Linked DNA regions of Homo sapiens: region 1 is linked to region 2. The links are contacts of gene promoters, found by promoter capture Hi-C in blood cells and fetal thymus (Javierre and others, 2016). All regions are on one chromosome and are shown on one strand. The core of a region is centred on a gene start or on the middle of the fragment in contact, and the rest is flanking DNA. Distances in the headings are between cores, read along the strand shown.

Region 1 (4,586 bases), core at 1,991-4,490, 3.4 Mb before region 2:
TGGGAGAAAAGAATTAGATTTTCACCCATCAGAGATGAATTTGAAATGCTAATATGACCAGGTTAGAACTAGGAAAAAGACATAACTGGGAATATTTTTGGAGCATTCACTTAGTTCCCAGATTCAGTGAAGTGGTTATAGACAGCATTGTAAATCGTATTGGCTGGATTTTTCTTCCACACATAACAGTACAGGCATTAGACTATTAATTAAGTAACTCGTTCATTCATTGAAGCTAGATCGAGCACCTACTGTGTGGTAAAGACTGCATACTGTGTAGCCCTATGGAGACTAAAGGAGATTACTTTCAGTTCTTTCTGTAAGTTGTTCTTCCACCTCCGGTGCTAGATCTAAGGTCACCTACCCATCAGCTTGGTCTCTATCCCCTTCTCCATGTTAATAAATATTCCTGACATATAATAAATTTATGGACAGAAACTACAACTTCACTCAGACTAATTATTTTAAAGGATATGTCTATCTTTAAAAAACGCATTTGAACATTTTACTGAAAGCCAGCAATTTAAACTTAGTGTTTAAACAGATCAACTTGAAGCCCTTCTTTACAAAATAAAAAGTTTAGCCTTCTAGCTTAAACTTAGGATGTAGAAAGCTTGTAAGAAGATCATCGCTCCAACAATCACGGCAAAATCAAGGACACATCATAAACTAAATCTAAAGTTTCTTGAATCTGTCAGAAAACTCCAGTTTTAGGGTATGGTGGGTAATATTAGGTGTCAACTATTGAGGGACGCCTAGACAGCTGATAAAGTATTGTTTCTGGGTGTGTCTGTGAGGGTGTTGCCAGAGGAGATTGACATTGAGTCGGTGGGGTGGGAGAGGAAGACCCACCCTCAGTGTGGATGGGCACCATCTAATTGGCTACCAGTGTGGCTAAAGCAAAGCAGATGGTTAGAAGGTGGGAGAAGCTGGCTTGCTGGGTCTTCTGGCTTTCATCTCTCTCCCATGTTGGATGCTTCACTCTGTTCCTCCTGCCCTTGGACATGAGACTCCAGGTTCTTTGGCTTTTGGACTCTTATTTATTTATTATTTATTATTTATTATTATTATTATTATTATTTGAGATAGGGTCTCACTCCATCGCCCAGGCTGGAGTGCAGTGGTGTGATCTTGGCTCACTACAACCTCTGCCTTCTGGGTTCAAGCAATTCTCCTGACTCAGCCTCCCAAGTAACTGGGATTACAGGCACCCACCACTACACCAGACTAATTTTTGTATTTTTAATAGAGACAGGGTTTCATCATGTTGGCCAGGCTGGTCTTGAACTCTGGGCTCTGACCTCAAGCAATCCACCTGCCTTGGCCTCCCAAAGTGCTGGGATTACAGGTGTAAGCCACCGTGCCTGGCTGGTTTTTGGACTCTTGTACTTACACCAGTGGTTTGCCGGGGGCTCTTGGGCCTTTGGCCACAGACTGAAGGCTGAACTGTCAGTTTCTCTGCTTTTGAAGCTGTTGGACTTGGAATAAGCCACTACCAGTTTCTGTCTTTCCCAGCTTGCAGATGGCCTATGGTGGGGTGTCACCTTGTGATGGTGTGAGCCAATTCTCCCTAATAAACTCCCTTTCATATAGACATAGAACCTATTAGTTCTTTCCCTCTGGGGAACCCTGACGAATATATAGTGCAAACAATCAGGCTGAAATACAAGGAAAGGCAGGCGTTTCTAAGGTGAGATGGGATGTGTGTACATCTTACCTTGAACAGACACAGAAAACACACAAATGGATAAGACACATGTGGAGAAAGTCTTAAAGGGCTTGCTGAGGCTGACAGTGGACTAGCATAAAGTTGTAGGACCTCTGGGAGATGCAGCCACAAGAGGAATTTGCAGCTGTCACCGAGTCTTCACAAACTTTACCTGTTACCTACTAGGAAGACTGGGGACAAGTTGAGGGAACTGAAAAAGCCCCCAAGATGATGTCTTGGGAGAGTTGAACAGTAGTGGCAGAGACTCTTCTCCATGAGTCTCTTGTCCTCCATATCTTATGGGTGTGCTAAGTAAGAATGCCAGGTGCTGACCACTCTTTCCCTAGAGTATTTCTCAGGGTTGTGGCTCTACTACATGTTCGACCTTGAAGGAGCAGGTGACATCTTCCTCCAGGACAAAGAGCAGGCTCTGCTTATCGGGGGTTATGAAGTGGCCGACTTTTCCCAGGCTCTGTATCTCCCTCCTATAAGGCAGCCCATAGCAGGTGTAGGTTCCCATCCAAGTTCATCCTCAGCACCCCCTTGTGGTCCTGAGAAAAAGAAGCTGATGCTCTGGCAATGGCTTTGCTGGAAACAAGTCTCTAGTCTTAGACCTAAAAGTTCTGTGTCTTCTGCCAGCATCCATAGAATGGCAGCATTGCAGCAAGCTATTTTATTAACTTGCAAACAGGATATACTCCCAGACTCTTCATAGTTCTTGATGGGAAGTCACTCCTGGTTTGCAGTTTGCAGGTGGAACAAAAGTCTTCAGTTGCAGGAAATCCTGTGCAGCTGAAGATCCTCTGTAGCCTTAAGAAAATAATAATAATAGTTTTATTATGTGTTATACTATATATAATGAGTATTATATACAATATACACAGCTGACCCTGGAACAACATGAGTTTAAACTATGGGGATCCACTTATCAGTGGATTTCAGTAGGCTGCTAGCTAAGTTTTGGTGGAATTAAAAGCTATATGTGAACTATTTTTGAGACGGAGTCTCACTCTGTCACCCAGGCTGGAGTGCAGTGGCACAGTCTCAGCTCACTGCAACCTCCCCCTCCCGGGATCAAGTGATTTTCCTGCCTCAGCATCCTGAGTAAGCTGGGACTACAGGCATACACCACCATGCCTGACTAATTTTTGTATTGTTAGTAGAGATGGGTTTCACCATGTTGCCCAGGCTGGTCTTGAACTCCTGACCTGAAGCGACCTGCCCACCTTGTCCTCCTAAAGTGCTGGGATTACAGGCGTGAGCCACCGTGCCCAGCCTATATGTGAACTTTTAACCATACAGGGGATTGGTGCCCCTAAGCCTCGCCCTGTTCAAGGGTCAACTGTACACAATCATATAATATGAATATAATTGTATATAATTCATTGTGTATACTATATATAGTTATACATATATTATGTACAATTTTATACCTTATATTCTATATTATGTCATGTATAATATATTTAAATATATAATATATAATATATATTTTATAACATTAATTAGCAATATTTTTTGTTTTTAATATAATATAGTATGTTATATATATCTATATCTATCTATAAAATCTACCATGTATCTATGTATCTTCTATCATCTATCATCTATCATTTATCTATGTCTCATGTATCTATTACCTATGTATGTATGTATGTATGTATGTATCTATCTATCTATCTATCTATCTATCTATTTATTATCTATCTATCCCTCTATGCTGGTGAGGGGATGAGAAGGGCACTTTACCTCTGTGGTATTTGTTCCCAACATTCCCTAACCCCACTCTAATGATAAGACAAACAGGAGACAAATGTGGCATGGGAAATATTCCACAGACTACTTGAACAGTACTCAAGACTGTCATGAAAAAGCAAGGGAAGTCTGAGAAAGGGCCACAGACAGGACATGGGGGAGGGGTGACAAGTAAGTGCAGTGTGATCCCTCAATGGGATCCTGAGACAGAAAAAAAAAAAAAGTTCATAAAAAGCCGGTGGAATCTGACCAAAGGTCTGAAGTGTACTTAGGAGTGCTGTGTCAATGATGTCGGATTCTTAGTTTTGACAAGTACAGCACAGCCACATTAGATGTTAATAATGAGAGGAACTGCTTGAGAGTTGCACAGGGACTTCCTGTACTCCATGGCAATCATTCAATCAAGCCCATTTAAAAAATTCCGTTTTAAGAAATGCACAGTCTGGTACACCAAACCAACAATCCAATTAAAAAATTGGCAAGTTGTTTGAATAGAGACTTTACCAAAGATGTTACAGAATATAGGCTCATGAAAAGATGCTCAACATCTTTAGTCCATAAGGAAATGCAAATTACTACCACAGGGAAATGTTACCACGCATGAGTGTGAATGTCTAAAATTTAAATCAACATACAAGAACAAAAATACTAAAACAAAACCCTAATGATATGAAGCGTCAGTGAGGAGGGGGAATAGCAGAGAACCCTCATATGTTGTTGGTGGGAACGCAGAATGGTACAAGCACAGGAAAACAGAGCGGTGGCTTCTTACAAAACTAAATATGCAAGTACTACTGAAACAGGAGAGTTCCCTGACCTACCCTGCAGGACGTGTAACAGGGGTGTGGCATGTCTGTCCTGCTGCCTTGGCTCAAACCCCTTGTGGAAGGGGAATCACACAGACAGGCAGACGCAGGAGCTGGAGCAAGTGCTTTTGGGCTCTGACTCCATGGTAGCTTCTAGGGGTGGGTGCCTGCAACTCCTGAAGTCCCAGTGGGTGTGTTACAGTGCTCTTTTAGCTCTGCCATCCACAGACCACTTAAGTGTTAACCAGCTCAGTGCCCTCTTGGTACCCAGGTTCTTGTCTGGCATCTAGGAAAAATCAGGACACACAGACAAACTG
Region 2 (4,288 bases), core at 803-3,302:
TCTGGATAGCAGAAAACAGATTTTAAAACATAGATTGCATTAAATAAAGTACTTAATGAATAATTATTTGTATTACTTCTGGATAAATTGCTTGGAACTCAGAGCTTCCTCTTACTGTGAGAATTAAAAAAGAATTAAATTCCTATACCATTCCACTTAATAGAAACTGCATGCCCACATTTTAATTTATGTATCTATTTCTAAGTAGCAGTGAGGTAAGACTTGTTGCCCACATGTTCAAGGCCTTGAAAACAGGCCCCATGCTCTTCTCATGATCATAGAAAGAAGAAATATCCTTTGCTTGAAAGGAACAGAGCTGGAATCTTAAGGATAAATAAAAACTCAAGAGTAATATAAGTCATTTTATTTCCTTATTTCACTATCACCCAAAATAATCTTTTCCACAACCAGAGCACAGATCCCTAATAATTACATCTTAAGAGAAAAGTCCTAATCCTTTCTGTTTCCAAGCAAACGATTATTTCTCTGCAGTGTTAACTTAGTAGAGTCAATGCTGGTGTTTGCCTTTGGGTCTTAATTTCTTGATGAGGAACACAGCCTAAGTTACTACTTAATTACCTCTATTTTTTCTGGTGCTGTTAGCAGAACAGAAGCAACCAACGATCCCGCAGACGCCCCAGCGAAGGCTTTGACATCCTTCACAAGTTTTTTGCCATGTCTGCAAAGTGCAGATGCTGCCCCCAAGTGGTAAATGCCCAGAAATCCACACGCTGCAAATGATAGGTTGATGTGCTTCATTCTAGCTGTAGCACTGGCAATACAAAAAACAAAAATGCTGTAAGTTGGAATAGTTTATCCCACATACTGTGTAGTCTTATGTTGATCATCGTTCCAAGGCTTTCTTCTAACATCATTCTCTGTTTTAAGCACAGTGGTTTCAATTAATTCTAATTAAACACAAGAATCTTTCAAGGAAACCCTTTCTTTCCCTCCTCACCTTGACCCAAGTCTTATACATTAAAACAAAACAAAACAAAAACATTCCACATTTATTCGGTACATAGATTATGAATCTACGATTTAATTACTTGGCAGGAAACAGACGTATAAATTCCAGTTGACAAGGGCATTTGGTCTTTTCTCTTGACCCTTTGAAACGTTTTGCGGGTGGGGGCGGCACTACCATTATGAAACAGAAAATTATTAGAGACCGTATCAAATTCCAAATGAACAATACATTTGTTCTTGGTAAGTGTATCAGAAGATTTCAAATACAGTTCCCTACTCCCCTTCCCAATTTCTATTGTGAGCACCCATGCTTTTATGAACGCCAATACAATTACTCAGTAACGCAATAAGCAATCACTCAACAATGCAATACATTTCTTTGCCAAGTATCTCAACACAAACTGAGGTCATGCCTGGTGAAGGCAATTTAAGGCTCTATGAAATGTCAGCCACGCCACTTTATACTTGGAACACATCTAAATACAAAATTACATGTTTTCCTATGCCTCAGTGCGCACAATTTGCCCAAGTGAATGAAATTGTGCCTCCACAAGGCTGTCCATTCTGAAGGTCTCAGGGTTTCCTTGGGGGCCCAAGGGCCCCATTCAGGGACCCCAAGATGAGGCACATTACAGGGCCTCGAATTTAGGGACCTAAGACCGCCTGTTCCTGATGCACCCGGCCAGGCCCTGTGAGGGCAGGTGGCTCGGCCGCCGCAGGCTGCGCTGGCGTCCGCGTAGGCTGAGTCCCAGTCATCGATCCGGGGTCAAGCCCCAGTTTTGATTCCACTTCTGCAAATGGGGACGGGAAGGGGGTTGGGTGTGTAGCAACCAGGCGGCCAGGCCCAGCCAGCACAGGCTCAGTGCCCTCCCGCGGCTTGGAGGCCGGCAGGGCCGGGGTGGTCCCCGCATCAGTCCCGCAGGAGCACACCCTTGCTGGGCCCCAGGGCTCCGTACCAATGCAGCCCCGGGACACTTCCGTGTTGAACGAGTCCCTTTAACCAGATGGCGGGGCCGGGCCGTCACTCAACGCCATTCCGCCACCAAGGCCGCGCTACGCTCTCCGCGAGCCGGCCCAGGAAAGTCCTGCGGCAGGGGTTGGTACCGCCTCCCGCGCAGGTATGTGACGTCATCGCGCCGACGAAGGCGCCCGCTAGGCCCCGCCTGCTCTATTTAAACTTCTGGACTCAACCTGGCCGCTAGACCGGAGCGTCCTCCAGCGCAGGCAAGGATTCCTCGTTTAGAGTCATGTTATCTTCGAGTACCTAGAGAGACATTTTAACCCACACCCTAGAGAGGCGTTGTAATCCTTACGTGTCTTTTAACGCTACTTGGCCCTTACCTGCGAGCAACTGACCTTTAATAATCCTCATTTTCTGTGCCCCGGAAGTGCCTTACCCTCTTCGCGTCTGTTTCCCGGAAGTGGTTCTTCTCCCTCTCCACCCTTTCGCCCGCCTGGGCGGTCCAGCTGCCCCTAGGGGCCAACTCCAGCGGCTATTTTGGGGCTGGACATCCCGCAGCTTTTCAAGGCGTGCCTTTGGTTTTTTTAAGAAGTGCTATCTAAAGGAAAAGCTGGACTATGACTCTGGGGAACTTTCATATCCTCAGTTGACCTTAGGCTGTGTGACCTTGAGCAGGTAGCATAACCTCTCTGAGTTTCCCGCGTGCCTTATGTGCAGATTGAGATGCTAAAATGAGAGAGCTAAATTGGAAAGCTTTTTCCACATAGGGGGCCGTGAGCAGGTGGCTGTTTTGTCCTCTGGCACCTTTGGCTCAGACTTAAGCAGCTTCAACGACCGCCAAGATGCCTGCCATGCCCACCAAGATTTAAAGGACTCTGATAATTCTTTCTCTCCCCAAACGGTGTTTTCCTTATCTAATCCTAATAACCAAGCCTGGAGGAATCCCTGACTTCGTGATTGAAGGCTCTCCAGGTCCCCTAGTTTAAGGGCAGAGATTTACTTTCTCTGAGGCTACAAAGGAGCGTCTGCGAGAATGTCTCTACCTTAGACAAAACAGGGAGGAGGGGTGGAGCTCTCCAAATTGCCTCTGGTTTGGGCTTTTTCTTTCTGTTTTGGTGTATCGTCTCTGGCCAACAACACCTGTGAGTCCTTGATGTGACGATTAGGGAAGATGTTTTTAATTCACATAACTATTCTTTAGAGAAAATTGATCCTGAAACACCTTATTGCCTTATCGTAGAATGACTGCATTACTCAGAATTCTTTACCTCTACCGGAATTTAGTGAAGGGAAGGCACAACGTACATTAGGAAAATACAGGACACACTCCAGTCCTTAAACCTTCCACAATCTTCTAGCTCTTTAAGGTCGAGTGTGATCCTCCCCAGAACTGCATCTTCCAGGAAGCTCATGAGAAAGGAAGGATCCCAGGTCCCATCTCTGATCTGAGTCGGCATCTGCGTTTTAACAGAATCCTGAAGCAGTGGTCTAACTCCTTTGGTGGTGTTATTGTTTGCATGTATACCTCCAAAATTCACATATTGAAATACTAACCCCCAAGGTGATAGTATTAGGAGGTGGGGCCTTTGGGAGGTAATTAAGTCATGAGGGTGAAGCCCTCATGAATGGGATTAGTACTCTTAGAAAAGGGACCCCAGAGAGGTCTCTTTCCACCATGTAAGGATAAAAGTACACGGAGAAGATGGCAATCTGCAAACTGGAAAAGGGCCCTCCTCAGAACCTGACCATCTTGGCACCTTGATCTCAGACTTCCATCTTCCAGAACTGTGAGAAATAAATTTCTTTTATAAACACTCAGTCAATGCTACTTTATTATAGCAGCCTGAATGGATTAAGACAGGTGGTCTGGTTTAAAGTGATGTGGTGGCATCAGAAGTTTAAGGAGAGACTGGATTTACAGAACCAGAATCTGGGATGCTGTTTACAGAGCAAGTTATTTCCTGCATTTGGACACTGTCAGCAGGTCGATTCAGGAGACAGGTGAAAACTTTATCACCGGGCAGCCTGGATGAACACCACAACTTTGATATCTTTCACTTAAAGGAAAGATAAGGGCATCCACTATTTCTACACCTGGCTGGCAGAGTGAGAGCTCACCAAAGGTAAGTCTCTTTGGAGCAGCAAAATGCTCCATAATTTAACTCTTAAAATTTTAAATTTATTTCCTCCTTACTCCCTTCAATCCCGTATCATATCTCCATGTAACTAGTTAAAAGTTCAGCTCTCAGCTGGGTGAGGTGGCATGTGCCTGTAGTCTCAGCCACTCAGGAAGCTGAGGTGGGAGGATTGCTTGAACCTAGGAGTTCATCTTCAGCCAGAGCAATGTAGTGAGACCTC

The links. The method cuts DNA at HindIII sites, captures the fragments that hold promoters and counts their contacts. A CHiCAGO score of 5 or more calls a contact.
Region 1: a contact is called between a fragment that was not itself captured here and the fragment with the promoter of PNPLA4 in region 2, in 5 of 17 cell types (endothelial precursors, fetal thymus, naive CD8 T cells and 2 more). The highest score is 15.2, in endothelial precursors.

What each region holds. Positions count from the first base shown.
Region 1 is chrX:4,547,967-4,552,552 of GRCh38, forward strand. No RefSeq gene overlaps it. Among named protein-coding and RNA genes, the nearest start is that of FAM239C, 610 kb to the left of the region's middle. The HindIII fragment of the contact is 5,259 bases long and covers 612-4,586 here.
Region 2 is chrX:7,925,361-7,929,648 of GRCh38, forward strand. It overlaps PNPLA4 (patatin like domain 4, phospholipase and triacylglycerol lipase), which reads right to left and starts at 2,053. Exons shown (of 7, transcript NM_004650.3): 1 at 1,926-2,053; 2 at 580-772. The coding sequence starts at 759. It overlaps LOC107985675 (a long non-coding RNA gene), which reads left to right and starts at 2,140. Exons shown (of 5, transcript XR_001755784.2): 1 at 2,140-4,053. RefSeq lists a silencer at 488-782 and enhancers at 759-808, 1,471-1,700, 1,931-2,170, 2,191-2,240, 2,581-2,660. The HindIII fragment of the contact is 3,086 bases long and covers 1-2,681 here.